Linked DNA regions of Homo sapiens: regions 1, 2 and 3 are each linked to region 4. The links are contacts of gene promoters, found by promoter capture Hi-C in blood cells and fetal thymus (Javierre and others, 2016). All regions are on one chromosome and are shown on one strand. The core of a region is centred on a gene start or on the middle of the fragment in contact, and the rest is flanking DNA. Distances in the headings are between cores, read along the strand shown.

What was found. Contacts are between HindIII fragments. The CHiCAGO score rates a contact against its expected background, and 5 or more counts as called.
Region 1: a fragment that was not itself captured here is called in contact with the fragment with the promoter of ABRAXAS2 in region 4 in 1 of 17 cell types (naive B cells); the score reaches 8.7 in naive B cells.
Region 2: a contact is called between a fragment that was not itself captured here and the fragment with the promoter of ABRAXAS2 in region 4, in 1 of 17 cell types (naive B cells). The highest score is 5.1, in naive B cells.
Region 3: a contact is called between a fragment that was not itself captured here and the fragment with the promoter of ABRAXAS2 in region 4, in 2 of 17 cell types (monocytes and neutrophils). The highest score is 6.5, in monocytes.

Annotation. Positions count from the first base shown.
Region 1 is chr10:123,981,463-123,984,462 of GRCh38, reverse strand. No RefSeq gene overlaps it. Among named protein-coding and RNA genes, the nearest start is that of CPXM2, 91 kb to the right of the region's middle. The HindIII fragment of the contact is 4,167 bases long and covers 1-3,000 here.
Region 2 is chr10:124,009,921-124,012,839 of GRCh38, reverse strand. It overlaps CHST15 (carbohydrate sulfotransferase 15), which reads left to right. Exons shown (of 8, transcript NM_001270764.2): 7 at 360-507; 8 at 2,501-2,919. The coding sequence ends at 2,691. Among named protein-coding and RNA genes, the nearest start is that of CHST15, 82 kb to the left of the region's middle. The HindIII fragment of the contact is 4,917 bases long and covers 1-2,919 here.
Region 3 is chr10:125,723,283-125,726,105 of GRCh38, reverse strand. EDRF1 (erythroid differentiation regulatory factor 1) reads right to left here. Exons shown (of 25, transcript NM_001202438.2): 4 at 2,170-2,295; 5 at 664-788; 6 at 268-424. Among named protein-coding and RNA genes, the nearest start is that of EDRF1, 5.0 kb to the right of the region's middle. The HindIII fragment of the contact is 1,424 bases long and covers 601-2,024 here.
Region 4 is chr10:124,800,565-124,803,338 of GRCh38, reverse strand. It overlaps ABRAXAS2 (abraxas 2, BRISC complex subunit), which reads right to left and starts at 1,520. Exons shown (of 9, transcript NM_032182.4): 1 at 1,438-1,520. The coding sequence starts at 1,509. RefSeq lists a silencer at 1,245-1,324 and enhancers at 813-1,366, 1,425-1,694, 1,367-1,921. The HindIII fragment of the contact is 5,454 bases long and covers 1-2,076 here.

The DNA.
Region 1 (3,000 bases), core at 201-2,700, 820 kb after region 4:
TTTTTTTTTTTTTTTTTTTTTTTGAGATGGAGTCTCGCTGTGATGCCCAGGCTGAAGCGCAGTGGCGCAATCTCAGCTCACTGCAAACTTCCACCTCCCAGGTTCACACCATTCTCCTGCCTCAGTCTCCCAAGTAGCTGGGACTACAGGTGCTTGCCACCAGGCCCAGCTAATTTTTTTGTATTTTTTTAGTAGAGACAGGGTTTCACCATGTAAGCCAGGATGGTCTCAATCTCCTGAACTCGTGATCCGCCCTCCTCAGCCTCCCAAAGTGCTGGGATTACAGGCATGAGCCACTGCACCCGGCTTCTTTTTTTTTTTTTTCAACTTTTATTTTAGTTTCAGAGGTATATGTGCAGGTTGATTCTAGGGATAAATTGCATGTTGTGGGGATTTGGCGTACATATTACTTCATCACCCAGGTAATAGGCATAGTACCTGATAGGTAGTTTTTTTGGTCCTCACCCTTCTCTCATTCCTCACCCTCCAATCGGCCCCCAGTGTCTATTGTTCACTTCTTTGTGTCCATGTATACTCAATGTTTAGCTTCCACTTACAAGTGAGAATACATGATGTTTGGTGTTTTGTTCCTGCATTAATGTGCCTAGGATAATTGCCTCCAGCTCCATCCATGTTCCTGCAAAGAACAGATCTTGTTCTTTTTAATGGCTGTGTAGTATTCCATGGTGTATACGTACCACATTTTCTTTATTCAGTCTACAATTGATGGGCATTTAGGTTGATTTCTTGTCTTTGCTATTGTGAATAGTGCTGCAATGAACACATGTTTGCATGTGTCTTTATAGTAGAGTGATTTATATTCCTTTGAGTATAAACCCAATAATGGGATGGCTGGGTCAAATGGTAGTTCTGTTTTAAGTTCTTTGAGAAATCACCGAACTGCTTTTCTACTACAGTGGTTGAACTAATTTGCATTCTCATTAGCAGTGTATAAGTTTTCTCTTTTCTCTACAGCCTTGCCAGCATCTGTTATTTTTTGATTTTTTAGTAATAGCCATTCTGACTGGTTTGAGATGGTCATTTCATTGTGGTTTTGATTAGCATGTCTCTAATGATTAGTGATGTTGAATATTTTTTTGTATGCTTGTTGATTACATATATGTCTTCTTTTGAAAAGCGTCTGTTCATGTCCTTTGCCAACTTTTTAATCGGGTTGCTTGTTTTTTGCTTGTTAGTTCTTTTAAGTTCCTTATAGTGTCTGGATATTAGACCTTTGTCAGATGCATAGTTTGTAAATATTTTCTCCCATTCTGTGGGTTGTCTATTTACTCGGTTTTACAGTTTCTTTTGCTGTGCAGAAGCTCTTTAGTTGAATTAGGTCCTATTTGTCCATTTCAATTTTTGTTGCAATTGCTTTTGGCATTTTTGTCATAAAATCTTTGTCAGGGCCTATCTCTACAGTGGTATTTCCTAGGTTTTCTTCAAGGCTTTTTATAGTTTTAGGTTTTACATTTACATTTTTAATTTTGAGTTGATTTTTGTATATGGTGTAAAAAAGGGGTCCAGTTTCAATCTTCTGCATATGGATAACCACTTATCCCAGCACCATTTGTGGAACAAAGAGTCCTTTCCCCATTGCTTTTTTGTTGTTGCTGATTTTGTCCAAGATCAGATGGCTGTAGCTCTAAGGCTTTATTTCTGGGCTCTCTATTGTGTTCCATCAGTCTATGTGTCTATTTTGTACATGCTGTGGTGGTTACTGTAGACTTGTAGTATAGTTTGAAGTAGGGTAATGTGATGTTTCCAGCTTTGTTCTTTTTGCTTAGGATTGTGTTGTCTATTTGGGCTCTTTCTTTCGTTCCATATAAGTTTTAGAATAGTTTTGACTAAGTCTGTGAAGAATGTCATTGGTAGTTTGATAGGAATAGCATTAAATCTGTAAATTATTTTGGGCAATATTGCCATTTTAACAATATTGATTCTTCCTATCCATGGACATGGAATGTTTTTTCATTTGTTTGTGTCATCTTTGATTTCTTTCAGTAGGTTTTGTAATTCTGGTTGTAGAGATCTTTCACCTACCTGGTTAGCTGTATTCCTAGGTATTTCATTCCTTTTGTGGCTATTGTGAATGGGATTGTGTTCTTGATTTGGCACTCAACTTGGATGATATTGATGTACAGAAATGCTGCCAATTTTTGTACATTGGTTTTGTATCTGGAAACTTGGCTAAAGTTGTTTATCAGGTCTAGGAGCTTTTGGGCAGAGGCTGGGGTTTTCTAGGTATAAAATCATATTGTCTGCCAACAGAAAGTTTGACTTCCTCCATGGATGCTTTTTATTTCTTTCTCTTTCCTGACTGCTCTGGCTAGGACTTCTTGTACTATGTTGAAAAGGAGTGGTAAGAGTGGGCATCTTTGCCTTGTTCTGGTTCTCAAAGGGAATGCTTCCAGCTTTTGCCCATTCAGTATGATGTTGGCTGTGGGTTTGTCGAAAATGGCTCTTATTATTTTGAAACATGTTCCTTCAATGCCTACTTTGTTGAGGGTGTTTAACAGGAAGGGATGCTGAATTTTATTAAAAGCCTTTTCTGCATTTATTGAGATTACCGTGTGGTTTTTGCCTTTAGTTCAGTTTATGTGATGAATACATCTATTGATTTGTGTGTGTTGACCCAACTTTGTATGCCAGGGAAAGCCTACTTGATTGTTATGGATTGGCTTTTTGATGGGCTTTGGATTTGGTTTGCTAGTATTTTGTTGATGATTTTTGCATCTATGTTCAAGGATATTGTCCTGAAGTCTTTTTTTTGTTGTTGTTGGGTCTTTGCCAGGTTTGGTACTGGAATGATGCTGGCCTCACAGAATGAGTTAGGAAGGAGTCCCTCTTCCTCAATTTTTTGGAATAGTTTCAGTAGGAATGGTACCAGCTCTTCTTTGTATGTCTGGTAGAATTAGGCTGTGAATCCATCTAGTCCTGGGCTTTTCTGGTTGGCAGGATATTTATTACTCATTCAATTTCAGAACTCATTGTTGGTCT
Region 2 (2,919 bases), core at 334-2,833, 790 kb after region 4:
TCACACTGGGAACAGAGAAACAGCCAGGATATTGTGCGAGGAACATGTACACCATTGGTGGCCACAACCTTGACCTCTTCCCTGCACTTCAGTCCTTACCTGTGAAATGGAGGCATGGCGCTACCCACAGGGTGTTGTGAGGATGAAATGCAACCCCTAATATAGGAATTCTTTGCACATGTAGCACAAAACCCCCCATAAAGAAGCAAGAACACCTTGTGTTAAAATCCAGCTTCTGAAAGTAACTTTGCTAGGATAACTCTTTTGTGGTACAGTGAAATGCCATACCACTTTGGAAAAGTGCCCTATGGTGTTGGGGCAACTGCTCCTGAAATAATGCCCTTCTTCTGTGGTCCTAGGTGAGGCTCCAGGTTGGGCTCTATGCTGTGTACCTTCTGGACTGGCTCAGCGTTTTTGACAAGCAACAGTTTCTCATTCTTCGCCTGGAAGATCATGCATCCAACGTCAAGTACACCATGCACAAGGTCTTCCAGTTTCTGAACCTAGGTATGAGTGTGGTGCTTAGACTGACGGGCCAAAGCATGAGCTCCGTGGACTTGTTCTGGGAGTCCTCTGGGGCAAATGCAGACCTGGTCAGCTGGGTGGGAATGGGCTGAGCTGGGAGGCCTGGGGATGTCCTTCAGGAGGCCTGTTAAGTACCATTTATTGAGCACTAGCTGTACATAGGTCATTGTGCACAGTATGGTGAGGGATTCTCTGGAGAGAAGGAGATGGTTTCCCTTCTGGGAGCTTATGGTCTAGTGAAGGGAGAGGAGGAAGCCATAGCTCACCTAACTGAATGACAGGTAGGATGCCGTGGGGAAGGTCAGCACTGTCATGTAAGGTATGTGCTGATGGTTTGGGATCCCAGCTACTGCACGGATGAGGAAGGCTTCATGGAAGGAAAGGGCCTGAGAGCTGAGCTTTGTAGGACCAACAGGATGTCACCGGGGGGCTGGAGCAGAGGACTTGGGGCTTAGAGGAGGGAACAGACAGATCATTGCATCATCTCCGGTATTCTTGGAAATTCCAGGAGTCAGAGCCGTGTGGCTGAGTTTTGGCTGCTGATCATGGATGCTGGGCCCCTGGGGCATGAGCGCCTGCCCTCAGCCTGTGGATACCAGCCCCCCCAGGGGCCTGAGAGTCACTTTGTGGTGACAGGCCACACTGCTGACTATGGTGATGGCTGGCAGAGGCATGTGCTGGCGGAGCGAGTGCTGCCCATGTGGACGGGGCACCGAGGGATGGCTTGAAAGGCTGAGCAGGCTCGAACAAGCCGCCCTCCTTCCCAGAACGCCTCCTGCAGCCCTGACTAATGGTCTTGCCCGGGAACTTGGTTAATTGAGTATTTCTGAAAATATATCTGCCTGCCACTGGGACTTGGGCCTCTTTGATCATTTGATTTTGTTTCTCCTTTTTTTGGAGTTTGATGAGTTCTTTCCCTTCCAAGGCTTAGAATCATCTTTCTTTGATTTGACCACATGTTGACTCTGTCCCATTAATGAGCTTGTCTTTTGTCCCCAAGATGGATAGTAAGGCCAATTCTGTGTTTCATATGGCCCTAGGATGCTGGGACATGCTTTTTCTGTCTATGGGCTAAGGACTTTGGCCAGATCCCAAGAGCCCCCGGTAAAGAGGCTTGAGCAGTGATGGGTTACACCAAGAAGCTGTGGCCCAGAGGGCGGGGCGTTGGGGTCGCAGCCCTTGCTGTTCTGTTTCAGGGCCTCTCACTCCAGAGGGCGGGGCGTGTGCGTGACTGACAGCCCCTCCCGGCCTTTTCCAGGGCCTCTCCTCACTCCAGAGGGCGGGGCGTGGCGGTGACTGACAACCTCTGCCAGCCTGTTCCAGGGCCTCGCCTCACTCCAGAGGGCGGGGCGTGGGGGTGACTGACAGCCCTTGCCGGCAGGCCTCTTCTCCCTGATCTCCTTGCTGCAGATGGAGGTTCAGCCAGTGGGGGCTCTGGGCACAAGTGGCCTCCTCCCAGCCCTCCTCCCTATGGCCACTTCACAGCAAGACGCACAGGGTGAAACTGTGCAGGCCCAGGGACCTTGGCATGAGCAGCCTGAAGTAGAAACGATGATGGCGGAATTCCAGAGGGCTGCTGAGCAGGAAAACCGAAACCCGTGGGCTGTGCTCGGCAGGCCGCACGTTCCTCCAAGGACGGGCTGACACCCATGGAGAGCAGCCCACCAAGGGCAATTGGAAGGGAATCCTTGAGGTCAGCCTTAGACGCTGTATCATCATTAAATGCCAGCTGGGCTCCCCCGAGGGTGGGCATCCTGCACCCGCCGCAGAATTTCTTCGCAATTTCCTGATGGTGTTTCCACCTTCCTCCCTCAGTGCTTCCAAAATGGATCCAGCCAAAGAATTTTAATCCCTAAATATGTTCTCTTAAAGGAAACTCCTGTCTGAATACGAAGCATAGCTGGGATTTTTGCAAAGTCCCTTTTACTTCCTGCCATGCCTCCTGCCTTACGGGACTCGTCTTCTTTTATTCTAGGGCCCTTAAGTGAGAAGCAGGAGGCTTTGATGACCAAGAGCCCCGCATCCAATGCACGGCGTCCCGAGGACCGGAACCTGGGGCCCATGTGGCCCATCACACAGAAGATTCTGCGGGATTTCTACAGGCCCTTCAACGCTAGGCTGGCGCAGGTCCTCGCGGATGAGGCGTTTGCGTGGAAGACGACGTGAGAGCTGAATTGTTGCTGCACGTGCTGGGCCCGCCAATGCCGTCATCATCAGGATTTTACAAATCTCTTTGCGGGGAACTGTTTCACTCATGGTATGGAAAACCCCAGGACTCTGCCACTCTAGGCACACATGAATTATAACCATTTTGGAATTTCCTTCGTGATGTTCGAGAGCTCAGCAATGGACCCCTCACAGAGCTCCTCTATCCGAGGCCATTGGAGACCCCAG
Region 3 (2,823 bases), core at 63-2,562, 920 kb before region 4:
TATTAATAAACATATCAGTCAACTATTATATTTCGATTTAATAAAAAAATCTGATCTCCCCACCTATAATAGCTCTTGTAAATTCTATTGCGAAAAACTAAAAAGTATTTCTCCAATTCCATAAATTGACAGAAGTCTTTTTTCCCCCATTCCATAAGCTGACAGAATATTTCTTAGTCCTGTTCATCTTTTTTTTTTTTTAACGAGATGTTAAAAAAGGCTTTGTTTTCCTATGTGAGTTTCTAGAATTAGCATTTAAGTACTAACCTGACTGGAAGCACTGGGATCTTCAGAAACTGAAGAAGGCATTTCGAAGGGAGCAGGCCATGAAGCCCCTTCCGAATCATTTGTCTGATCTGAACTGGACGATTCCTGCTGTTCTGCGGTGGATGAGACAGGCTGAGCGGCTCCATCACCATTGATACTGGCCAAACCAGAAATAAAAAAGGATTGCTGTTACTAAAGTTAACTTCATGCAACAGTCTACCCGTTTATAAAAACTACAATCTGTAATTAAGCATACATCTTGTAAAAAAGAAATATGAAACAAATGTTAACAGTATCACAGGGGCAAAACTTAAATTATAACTTCATTAAGCTTCACACTAAATTTTAGATCAGAATTCCCTTTTTCTCTTTAGAGATAAATAAGTAGCCAAGTACCTGTAATATAAAAACTTGGAAAGAATTGCCTTTTGATACCAGTGCTCTTTGCTCTTTTTCTTCCTCTGCCACTTCTGATCAATGAGTCTTTGATAAAACTCTTTCAACCATGTCCAGTCACCAGTCTGGATAACATGAGATACATATTATTAATACAACACACATAGTCGAAACAATGTTACCTAGTACTAGCTTACAGAAAAGGCTCCTATTATTTTTTGAATAGTTTCATAAACACATACTCATTAAAAACATATCTTTCTGGGTCAATTCATACCACCTTTCTTTTGTTTTTTGTTTCCTAAAGGAAACCCGTCTTCCTCCTCCTAAGCCAGGCTGGGAGAGGTGAGTCTTCTCTATAACATGTTCCTTAGCAGCTGCAGTAGTTCCCACTTTGCACACTATATTGAAATGATCTGTGTATGTGTTTATAACCCCAAACAATGAACTGCTGAGGAGCAAGGCCTGTGATTTGTTCACTGTCACATCCCCGTGCCTAGGCTCATACTCACATGATGAACTAAACGGTGGTCTTTTCAAAGGAAAAAAGCACTTATTTTAAATGTCATTTACCTCACCATAATTTAATTTTCTTTATCAAAGCACTGTAGTAATATTCTTTAAAGACTGACCATGAACTATTTCTTGCCAGCCCAAGAAAAGTACAGATATGGAGGGTAGTTCTTGAGAAACTGCAACAATGTTATTATGTTTTTCAAAAGTATCCATTCTCAACATGTGGGAAAAACAGTCCTTACCAACATACAATTTGAGAATCTAGGCTAAAGAGCATCAATTAATTCTAATAACTACAGCCATGTGTCATTTAACAATGGGGATATATTCTGAGAAGCGCGTCATTAGGTGATTTTGTCCTGGTGTGAACATCGCAGAGTGTTACTTATAGAAACCTGGATGGTACAGCCTACTCCCTACCTAGGTCATACGGTATAGCCTATTGCTCCCAGGCTACAAATCTGTACATGTGACTGAAGTATTTGTGTATCTGAACACTGCAAATACAGTAAAAATACAGTATATTATAATCTTATGGGACCACCGGTATATGCAGTCCATCGCTGACTGAAACGTCATTATGGGAACATGACTGTATTTATTCATAGGAACAGCTTCTAATATTTTTCACATTTTCCAGTAGCTGTGTTTCCTGAGAATCTGTTTAAGGGAGACGTTAAAGGATTCTTAAAAATATTAAACTAGTCCCTTAAATTTCACAGTTTTTTTCACAACTTTCTTCATTGGCTTCATCTTTTTTCTTGTAAAAAAGAATCTGGCTGTTGGAATCAATAAAATAATTTTCTTCACCATTCTCATTCTCTTCTTTTTTCTTCATTCAAGCTTTTCTATCTTCAGTGAAACTTTCAATTTCTCGATTGTTGAAGTACTCAACTACATTTCCACTTTGGCCATTCTCTGAAACAAAATCGTATTTCTAGTGCTCTTAAGCTGTTAATGTTTTGTTGGATTTTTTCACAAAAGCATTACCTGAGACGATCTCATAAAGAGTTCTTGAATATCTAGCTCATCTAGTAAGAGAGTCCTTCCTATGCGGTGTACTGCCATGCTCACGTGCGACTTGCTGTAGGGAATTTTCAGGAGTTTTTTTATGTTCTTAAAAAATTAAGAGAAAAAATAGTTTAGAAAGACTGTTTTAGTGTGATTTGGAATCTTTTAAATTTTAGCTTCATTCATTTTAAAGCATAATAAACCTTATTTCCTTAAGGTTATACAAATAGAACTTTAAACAAAAAGCTACATGCAAACACACAGAGGACGGAGCTTTCAAACCAGAATCACGTACACTTTATGAGTCACATTATGTTAGTGACAGTCAAACATTTATTTTTACATGATAGGATTTCTTAAAGTTAAGGGTGTATACGTCACACTGTTATGCTGACCCAGGCTTTTAGCATATCAGATCAAAGCCACTAAGGATCCAATAGATTTTACTAGAAATATCATTTGTAACTCAACTGGTAACATATACAGAATAATCCCAAACACTATTATCAGTTTCAATTACTATCATTAAAATATAACCATCAATATATTATTACCACTGCCAGTGTTTGGGGATTGATTATTCCTTCCTCTTTAAATACAAATGTGGTAAACAATGATACTTTAACAACAAAA
Region 4 (2,774 bases), core at 271-2,770:
TTAATATAAACAGGCATGGTCATATAAAACACAGTTGCAAACTATTGGCATTGGTGAAAATTTCTATGAAGTCAAGCACCACGCCTTGCAGAGTAGATATTAAGGGATATCTCTTGAATTAATTTTTTTCAACAGGTAGCTGCTTGTTCTTACAGTAATCTTGCCATATACATAAACTGTGATATTAGTAGGCATTCAAGAAATAAAGGACCCATTTTTAATAGTCCATGGACACTAGGGGTATCACAAACCCTTACATATGGAACTATATTACATTATTAAATAGCTGGTTGTAGTACCCTAGGCCATAGTCTTCAAAGCTGCTTCTGGAAAAACCCATGATGTATATATTCCTATTCCTATCATTAAGTTCTACCATCAACACTGAAGAGATGAAAGGTACAATAATTTAATTGCATTCAATTTACTAATGGAATCACCTCCCTGTGAAATCAGTTTTTATTAATGGAAGCTAAGATTGCTGACATCAAACCAAATGCAGTTCCTCCTTCTGCAGTGTACCATTTTGCTTTGTAATGACAACCAAAAACCCCACACATAGGTTTAATGAGTTTGAATCATTCACTATTAACATCACTTAAAATAATCCCCCAATTTGGTGGCCAAATTATATACCTCCTTTAAGAGAGAAGTGATCTAGTTTCACAAAGCATTTCCAATCAGAGGCCAATGACGTTAAAAGACAATTTGTAAAATAAAGACACTGAAACAGACAGGATCTGCTCCTCCTGTGGGCTCACAGCCTATGCATTTCCCATCACTCAGTAGTGGGCCTGTCACTTCCCTATTTCACTGTGACTAGTGAAAGAACTAGTCACAAAGAACTAAACACGCAACTTCAAGGAAATACAAAATAGACCCTGCACCGAACGCTCCTGTATACATTCTCCATTTTGCATCAGGGCGAAGAAAACACACAACCGTGTCTAACAAGTATCAGTAGTGACAGCCACGGTTTCACTCGCAGCACCCCCACGACAACCTGCGAGACCGGCGGGCGGGGCTGAGTACCTCGCCTACTGGACTAAACGCCCGGCCTTTAGATTCCTTCCCGACCCCGTGCGCCCCTCTTAAGTCTAGAAGCCTGACTTTCAGGGAGGGGCAGGCGCTCGGTTTCCACCGAGCGACTCCTGACACTGCAGGAGGCCAGGTGGGACAGTTTTGCTGCACGGGAGACGGCTGTGCCGGGACGGCCGAGCGGCTGAGAGCGCGAAGCCAGGGGGCCTGTCCCAGGGGCGAAGGAGCCCCCAGAGGCAAGAGCTCACCGGGGGCGGGAGCCGCCCGGGTCACCAGCTCCTCCGGCCGGCCCTGGTGCCCAGGGGGCGAGCCGCATGAGGTCCCGGCTTGGCCGCGAGCGCCGGCCTGAGACAGAGGCTGAAAGCCCCCAGCGGGCGCGGCAGGGGGCCCGGCACCTACGTGGTCCGCGTTGCTGTTGGCGCTGTGGAAACACACAGCACTGAAGGTGTAGCCCGAAATGGACGCCGCCATGATGGAAATCTCCAGCTACCCCATCATGCCCCGCGGAGGGCACACGGCCTTCCGGACGGCCCGACCCCTTGGCATCATGGGAAGTGGAGTCTGCGGCGGGCAGCGGCCGAGGGCCCTGAGCGCTCACAGTCTTGAAGGCTGAGGAACGCCGGTTTTTGCGATCGGAAGGACCCCGGCACCGTATCCTCCGCAGGGGTGTCGCTCCCGACACGCCTCAGACAGCGGTTGATAGTTCCGCAAACAGTTCTTTCCCTTTGCAAGTGAAACCTTAGTATTAAAAGACAACATTCTAGCCGGGCGCAGTGGCTCACGCCTGTAATCCCAGCACTTTGGGAGGCCGAGGCGGGCGGATCACCTGAGGTCAGGAGTTCGAGACCAGCCTGACCAACATGGAGAAACCCTGTCTATATTGAAAATACAAAAACTAGCCGGGCGTGGTGGCACATGCCTGTAATCTCAGCTACTCGGGAGGCTGAGGGAGGGGAATGGCTTGAACCCGGGAGGCGGAGGTTGCGGTGAGTCGAGATCGTGCCATTGCACTCCAGCCTGGGCAGCAAGAGCGAAGCTTCGTCTCAAAAAAAAAAAAAAAAAAAAAAAAAAAAGGCCAACATTTAGGCTGAGCGTGGTGGCTCGCGCCTGTAATCCCAGCACTTTGGGAGGCCGAGGTGGGCGGATCACGAGGTCAGGAGTTTGAGACCATCCTGGCTTACACGGTGAAACCCCGTCTCTACTAAAAATACAAAAAATTAGCCGGACGTGGTGGCGGGCTCCTGTAGTCCCAGCTACTCAGGAGGCTGAGGCAGGAGAATGGCGTGAACCTGGAAGGCGGAGCTTGCAGTGAGCCGAGATCGCGCCACTGCACTCCAGCCTGGGTGACAGACCAAGACTCCGTCTCAAAAACAAAACAAAACAAAAAGCCAACATTTGAGGCCGGGCGCGGTGGCTCATGCCTGTAATCCCAGCACTTTGGGAGGGGGGGGCGTGTGTGGGGAGTGTTAACCTGAGGTCAGGAGTGTTATGCGCGTTTGTGTGAAGAGACCACCAAACAGGCTTTGTGTGAGCAACAAGGCTGTTTATTTCAACTGGGTGCAGGCGGGCTGAGTCCGAAAAGAGAGTCAGCAAGGGAGATAGGGGTGGGGCCGATTTATAGGATTTGGGTAGGTAGTGGAAAATTACAGTCAAAGGGGGTTGTTCTCTGGTGGGAAGGGGCGGGGGTTACAAGGTGCTCAGTCGGGGAGCTTCTAAGCCAGGAGAAGGAATTTCAC